Regions from separate parts of the Homo sapiens genome. Here region 1 is linked to region 2. Evidence: promoter capture Hi-C in human tissues and cell types (Jung and others, 2019). All regions are on one chromosome and are shown on one strand. The core of a region is centred on a gene start or on the middle of the fragment in contact, and the rest is flanking DNA. Distances in the headings are between cores, read along the strand shown.

Region 1 (4,112 bases), core at 845-3,344, 160 kb before region 2:
GGGAAAGTTCAAGTAAGGAATGAAGATGGCCGGGTGCGGTGGCTCATGCTTGTAATCCCAGCACTTTGGGAGGCTGAGGTGAGTGGATCAGCTGAGGTCAGGAGTTCAAGACCAGCTTGGCCAACATGGCGAAACCCCATCTCTACTAAAAATACAAAAATTATAGGTGGTGCATGCCTGTAATCCCAGCTACTCGGGAGGCTGAGGCAGAAGAATCGCTTGAACCCAGAGGCAGAGGTTGCAGTGAGCCCAGATCACGCCACTGCACTCCAGCCTGGGCGACAAGCGCAAAACTCCATCTCAAAAAAAAAAAAAAAAGGAATGAAGTTGGCCTCAACTCTGGGGATAATAGGGATGGACAGGAGGGCTGAGATGGTGGAGGCCTTTTTTGAAGTATGATGGGCAGGATGTAGGGGAACCCATCTTAATCCACTTCTTACATCTAAGACATGAATATATGTGCACAGCACATTTTAAACAAAGAGAAAGGAAAAGATCACTGTCCCAAACCCTTGGGATGAGATTGTTTATGCAATTAAGCAGCACAGGATTTAACTCTGAGATCCCTGGAAGCAAAGGCAAAAAGGGAAGCATGGTGACATGCATAAGCTTGCACTATCTGTTAAAATAAAGAATACTCAGGGGAAAGGAAGAGACTGGCCAGATTAGAGTAGAAATTAAGCCTGAAGGGCACTGGACAGATCATGTTTGTCCCTGATCCTGAGAGCCCTAGGAAGGGCCAGTTTGGGGATCACTGGTTCCTCCTACTGCTCTCTTTTGGAGGGTGGAGATCTTGGGGGTAATACCCTGAAAGCACAGTGCAATGGGGAGCCCAGCCTTGGCCCAGAAAGATACCTTTACAGCCAGCCAGCCAAGTGTTTAAACCCGGAAATATGATTCCCTACCAGAGTGGGATATGGCTCAACATCCCTTCCCACCTCATACTCCTCTGGCACTCTTTGGAGTCTCCATTAGCTCTTCAAGAGAAGCTGGGCAGAAAGTTGAGGTCCAAAGCAAGGATAGATGTATTTACTCAAAGTGGCCCAACAAGTTACGGATGGAGCCAGGACAGTGACTCTGCCCTTTTGATTTCAGAGCTTGTGTGTTTCTGGTCTGGCCAGAGCTGGCTATTCTCTTCTTAGTGTCCTATTAGTGCATGTGTTCATTCAACACAAGAGATGGAGCACCATTTGAGGGCTGGAGGGTGTCAGGGCCCTGTCCTCAGGGAGCTCCCCTTCTGGTGGGAAAGAAAACTCTTTGACAATCAGCTCTCCCTAAAGATGACTGAAGGTGACCATCACTCCCAGAGAAGTGCAGGCCTCACCTGCAAAGGCAAAGGAGAGATCTTGCCTTGATTCGGGAGTGGGAGCGGGGAGCAGAGGAAGACCTCCAGGGGAAGGCACAGGATCCCTATGGGCTGACTTTCCTGAGAATGGCGCATGGGCAGACGGAGTGGGGACAGGGGCCACTGGTATTGTAGGCACCTGGAATTAGGACCCCTTCTCTTTGTGGGGTGAGTGTTTCGACGTTCATTACCTTATTTCATCTTAGCAACACTCGTGGGAAGATAGTAGAGATATTTTAAGATCTTAAAATGCCCATTTTAAAGCTGGGAAAACAGACTCTCCGGTGGCGTGCTGTAGACCACAAACTGAATTAAGAACGCCAGTGTTCTGATTCCATCCATCTGCGGAGTTCCGGGCACGCACCGCCGAGCGCCTTACCCTGAGCCTTCCCGGTACCCGCAGCCCCGACAGCTCAGCCTTCCCCACCTGAAAGTTCCACCTGAGGTCTCCCTCAACTCTGCCCTCCTGCATTCTTGGCGTCGCGGGGAGTCAGGGGTTAAACCCCGTGGCCCGCGTGGCCCCTTCCCCCTCCGCAGCCCCCTCGCCTCCACTCGGCGCCGCGCCTGGAGCGTCCGTCCCGGAGACCCGCACAAGAGAGGAGGGGAAAAAGTGGGCCTGTTTCTCGGGTGGCCAATCCACCGAGCCCGCGGTGCCCCAGAGGAGGCGCCAGCGCTAGGCCAGCGCCAGGCCGGGCTGCCTGCTTCCCGCGGCAAAGTACAAATGCGCCCGAGCGCGGCGCCTGAAGCCCTTGGCGAGCACAGCCGGCCCGCGCTCAGCCTCCCTCCGCGGCCGCCGCGCCGCCGCCGCTGCTGGGACCGCCGCCCCGCCGGGCCCCAGGCCCCCGCGGCCCGACCCCGAGCCCACCGAGCAGGGGGCGCCGGCCGCCTCTAGCCCGCGCGCCCGCAACACCCGCTGGTCCCGCGCGCCTCGCCCGGCGCTGCGCGCTCGGCAGACGCCGGTCCTCTCCCTGCTTTCTCCTCCTCTCCCTCTCACCTTCCCCCTTTCTTTGATCGCCTCTCCCTTCTGCTGGACCTTCCTTCGTCTCTCCATCTCTCCCTCCTTTCCCCGCGTTCTCTTTCCACCTTTCTCTTCTTCCCACCTTAGACCTCCCTTCCTGCCCTCCTTTCCTGCCCACCGCTGCTTCCTGGCCCTTCTCCGACCCCGCTCTAGCAGCAGACCTCCTGGGGTCTGTGGGTTGATCTGTGGCCCCTGTGCCTCCGTGTCCTTTTCGTCTCCCTTCCTCCCGACTCCGCTCCCGGACCAGCGGCCTGACCCTGGGGAAAGGATGGTTCCCGAGGTGAGGGTCCTCTCCTCCTTGCTGGGACTCGCGCTGCTCTGGTTCCCCCTGGACTCCCACGCTCGAGCCCGTAAGTAGACCGGGAGGCTGGGTGGGCAGAGGAGGGATGCGGCCCCTGGAATGTGAGGGACAGCGCCAGGACCTGGACCCCAAGCTCTTCTGACAGCCGTCCAGGCAGCACCTGTGCCGGAGGGGTGGAGACTCCGTGAGGACCAGTATGGGCCGGGGGACCGGAGGAACTCGGCACAACTCAGAACTGAGAGAGGGCTGCTGCCAGGGACCTGAGGAGGGGCACCAAGGGCAGCGGGGGGAGAGGGCAGGGCACTGTGTTTTGGGTTGGGGGAGGACTTACTGTTCCTAGGAGGGAGTCGGGTATGTCTGGCTACAGGTAAGGAGTGTGATGGAGAAGAAAAGGCTTTTTGCCTTTGGAAAGAGCCATTGGACAGAAATGAGAGGTAATTAGGATAACCTTCCCATTCTTTTCTCTCTTTTGATCCTCGCAACTCTCCAGTGAGGTGGGTATTATCATTCGCACTTTACAGATGAGAAAACTTAGGCTGAGCAAGGAGGAACTTGCTAAAACTTACAGAGCGGGTAAGCCATCCAAAGCCAGAACTCTAGTTCCAGATCCCATGCTTTATTCCCTGCCTCACATTGTCTAGAAGGAACCCTGAATTTGCAGTGTGAGACTCTGGGAGGCGGCAGGGCACAGTGAGATAGACCAGCGTCTTCACCATCCCAGCCCCGCTGAATGCCAGCTGCTGGGAGGCCGTCACAGAGTGCACCTCTCTGACCCTGGGTTTCCTAATCTATAAAGCGGAAGTAAAAATCCTAGGAGAGTTGATAGGATTAAATTAGAGAAAAGAGGTAAAGCAGCTAGCACAAGACTGGTGCTTGATAGCTTCCAAAAAAAATCAGTTCCCAATTATGCTTTTCCACATAGATACAGTGTAACATCAAACAGGTTACATCATCAATCTGAGCCTCAGTTTCCTCACTGCGCCCACAATAGGCTGGTGGTCCCCCCTCCCCATGCCCAGCCAATCTCTTAGAATGCTGTGAGGATGGAAAACCAAACCACATTCTCTTAATCAGAAGAAAGGAGCTTCATTCAAGCAGTGGGTTTCTCCAGGACATACATGGCACAGCCTGGGATTAAGACCCTGCGTTCCCAACTCCTAGTCTGGTGCTCTTTCCTCTCCCCAGCTCAGCTCCTCCATCTATGCCTTTCTTTTGCACGTGACATTCTGGAGCTGGTAGTGCTGGACTTTGTTACGGTCTTGTTTCTGCTCATGAGAGCAGGCTGAGTGTCTCTGGCCTGCCAGCAGCATGAGACTCACATAAGTCTTTCCATTACATAGAACAAGTAATGGAATTAGCTCAGTGTTGTATTCAAATCCTGGCCGTGCCCCTTAGAGCTGTGTGACTTTTTGTAAGTCATAACTTCTCTGAGCCTCAATTTCCTAATC
Region 2 (3,805 bases), core at 346-2,845:
AGGTGCCCGCCACCACCCCTGGCTAATTTTTTTTTTGTATGTTTTTATTAGAGACCGGTTTTCACCATATTGGCCAGGCTGGTCTCAAACTCCTGATCTTGTGATCCTCCCGCCTCAGCCTCCCAAAGTGTTGGAATTACAGGCGTGAGCCACCGCGCCTGACCCTCTCAGTGCTTTTAAGATCAAGTTTGAGGCCGGGTGCTGTGGCTAATACCTGTAATACCAACACTTTGAGAGACTGAAGTGGCAGGATCACTTGAGCCCAGGAATTTTAGACCAGCCTGGGCAACATAGTCATACCCCATCTCTACAAAAAATAAAGAAATGAGTCAGGCATAGTAGCGTGTGCCTGTGGTCCCAGCTACAGGGGAGGCTGAGGTGGGAGGTTCACTTAAACCCAGGAATTTGAGGCTTCAGTAAGCTGTGACCACGCCACTGTACTCCAGCCTAGGTGACAGAGCAAGACCCTGTCCCAAAAAAAGAGATCAAGTTTGAGCTTCTTACCACCTCAACTTCACCTCTCACCCCTAGCTGCTTCTTACCTATGCTCCAGCAACACAGACTGCTGATAAGTCCAGGTACATACCGTGTTATTTCCCACAAGTCTTTGCATCTGCTGTGCTCTCTTCAGAAGTATCCTCCTCAGTGTCCTCAGCCATAAAGAAGGCAGGTATCTTCTCTGCCAGGCTAGTTTAGGGCTCCTTTCCTTTGCTGTCATAACCCTTTGAGGTTCTATCATGCTAGATTACAGTGTCAGGTTGAATTTTTTTTTTTTAACTAGGCGAGTTTCTTAAGAAAAGGAATATTGTGTTATTTATTTCTGTATTCTCAGTGTCCAGGACCTATGTAATAATTGGTGTTCAATAAATGTTTGCTTAAAAAGGGAATAAATAAATGAATGAGTGATTCAGTCATTTGAAAAGTCTTTAGTGAGTGCCTACCATGTGTTTAGTATAATGCTAGCCACCACCGTGGCCACAAAAGAAATAAAAGACCTATAATACGTCCTTAAGGGCCGGGTGCAGTGGCTCACACCTGTAATCCCAGCACTTTGGGAGGCCAAGGCAGGCGGATCATGAGGTCAGGAGTTTAAGACTAGCCTGGCCAATATGGCAAAACCCTGTCTCTACTAAAAACACAAAAATTAGCCAGGCGTTGGTGGCACGTGCCTATAGTCCCAGCTACTCGGGCGGCTGAGGTAGAAAAATTGCTTGAACCCGGGAGATGGAGGTTGCAGTGAGCCAAGATCGCGCCACTGCACTCCAGCCTAGGCAACAGAGTGAGAGTCCATCTCAAAAAAAAAAAAAAAAAAAAGTCCTTAAGGAATTTTAGTTGGGAAAACAAGACCTGCTCAGGAAAACGGATTATAGAACAATGCAATAAAGAATCAAGTTGCTGAAGAGCACTGCACACACAGATCTCTGTTCAGATTCTGGCTGTATGATCATGTGCAAGCCCCCTAAGCTCTCTAGGCTTCAGTTTCCTCATCTGGAAAATGGAGATAATTACCAGATGTGTTGAGTTCGAGGTACTATTGGCATACAGTACTAATCATTAAACAATGCCACTCCTCTGGACAATATTTTATAGAAGTTCACAAAGCTGATTCACGTCAAAGCTGATTCACATTCTTTATCTCATGTGATCAACCCTGTGAAACAGGGATTATAGCATAGCATTTATGGCAGATTGTAAAAATGACCACAGATTATCCCCTTCCCTCTACCCACACCTTTTGAAAGTGCTTTTGCACTCTGAGTCTGGTTTGGCTTTGCGATGACTTGAAACATGCTTGAGCACGGAGGCTTGTCTGCTCTCTCTTTTTTTTTTTTGAGATGGAGTCTCGCTTTGTCACCTAGGCTGGAGTGCAGTGGCGTGATCTCAGCTCACTGCAACCTCTGCCTCCCGGGTTCATGCGATTCTTCTGTCTCAGTCTCCTGAGTAGCTGGGATTACAGGCATGCACCACCACACCCAGCTAATTTTTGTATTTTTAGTAGAGACGGGGTTTCATCATATTGGCCAGGCTGGTCTTGAACTCCTGATCTCATGATCCTCCCACCTCAGCCTCCCAAAGTGCTGGGATTACAGGTGTGAGCCACTGCATCTGGCCTGTCTTCTCTTGTTAAACTTGGAATCTTTAGCCCGCCAAGTCAATGAGCCTAAGCTAGCCTGCTGGAAGATGAGAGGCTATATGGAGGAGCATCAGGGTGCTCCAGCCAACTGCCAGTCACCAAATATGTGATTGAGCCAACTTACCAGCTATCCACAGACCCATGCATGTGGGAATCCAGCATAGATCAGCTAAATTGGCCAAGATCAAAACTGTGACCTGTATAAATATACTGTACCTTAGAACTGTGAACTAAACAAAATGATTGTTGTTTTAAGCCACTGTGTTTCAGGGTGGGTCATTTTATAGCAAAAGCTCACTGAGACAGAGATCCAGAGCAGTAAAGCTTTGGAGCTAAGCAGTCTGAGTTGGAAAGACAGCTTCTCCCACTTTCTAGCTATATGGCCTTGGGCAAGCCACTCAATTTCTCAGAGCTTCAGTGTCCTCATTTGAATAATGGGGGTAATGGTAGTGCCCATTTCCTGGGGTTGCAAGAATTCAATAAGATGATAGATGTCTGACATTAGCTTGTATGAAGCTTGGCTCAGCCTAAAGGGAGCTGTTGTTGCCATTGCTCCATTGTTCAGATGAGTAAACTGAAGATGAGAAAACTAAACTCCCAGGTGTTTGGTCACTTTCCCCAAGGTCAGTCAGCCAGAAAATGACTGAACTTGGGACTCACAGTCAAGACTTCTTAATTCCTACCAAGTGTAGGATTCCTAATAAGACTAGTGGGGTGACTGGCAGGGGGTGGGGAGGGACATTTATTGTCTACCTGGTGACAAATTTCCTTGTGTCCTGATTTCAGTAGGAAGCCAAAATAGGCTGGAGGTAATGAATAATCAAACTGAAGTTCTACGAAGATTAGTTGGTAGCACAAAGTACAACTCACTGGCAGGCACTGGCAGTTCCAGCCCTTCATTCTCTGAATCCAATGTCTTATCAAGTCGGATTTTCTTGTACTGTTTCTCAAATCCACTCATTTCTCTCTCTTTTTTTTTTTTTTTTACCTCAGCCCTTGCCCCTGTTCCTGGAGCTGTGCAATGGCTTCCAGCTTTCTTGGCGACTCCCACCGCAATCCTCTTTCCTCTCCTCTCGTCCTTCTCCAGCCACACTTTTAGCTCTGTGGCAACACATGCCTGATGCCTACCAGAGGTCAGATTCAGCTTGTGGGCTTTACCTTGGAGCCGGCTTCATGGTTTCCAGGTATTGGGATATAAGGCCTCCATGTGCCTGACACCCCAACCATCAAATTAGGATATTGGAGATGTCCCCAGCAAAGACTTTCAGAGCTGACCCTTTATAAGGGTGGCACCTAAATCCTACTGAAGGCCTGTAGGTACATACCATCAGTGAGCAGCAGATGGCAGAGTCACCTCTCCTTTTGCTATCTCCCATTAGGAGTTATTGCCGCTCCTTCCTCCATGAAGAATAACAATAAAGATAGGACCTCAATACACAATTAGAAAACGCTCTGTATGAAAAAGTTTAATTGAATTAATTGCCCAAATTTAAAGAATAAGGGATGTCCTAGTAAAATCATATTTCAGGCTTTTAAAAAATCCAAATATCTTGTGCTCTACCATGGTGAGCCTTGGTCCTTATCATTCCCTGTGTTCTCCCAACACTGAGGCCAAGTTATTTTTGCCATTGATCAAGGTGGTTGTACTATTATTTTTCTTAAAACTTTTTT

Evidence for each region. Contacts are between HindIII fragments. The study calls those that stand out against the background at their distance.
Region 1: a contact is called between the fragment with the promoter of CHRDL2 here and a fragment that was not itself captured in region 2, in 2 of the 25 tissues and cell types used here (IMR-90 fibroblasts and heart right ventricle).

What each region holds. Positions count from the first base shown.
Region 1 is chr11:74,729,408-74,733,519 of GRCh38, reverse strand. It overlaps CHRDL2 (chordin like 2), which reads left to right and starts at 2,094. Exons shown (of 11, transcript NM_001278473.3): 1 at 2,094-2,713. The coding sequence starts at 2,632. The HindIII fragment of the contact is 7,141 bases long and covers 1-4,112 here.
Region 2 is chr11:74,570,376-74,574,180 of GRCh38, reverse strand. No RefSeq gene overlaps it. Among named protein-coding and RNA genes, the nearest start is that of POLD3, 20 kb to the left of the region's middle. The HindIII fragment of the contact is 4,780 bases long and covers 1-3,805 here.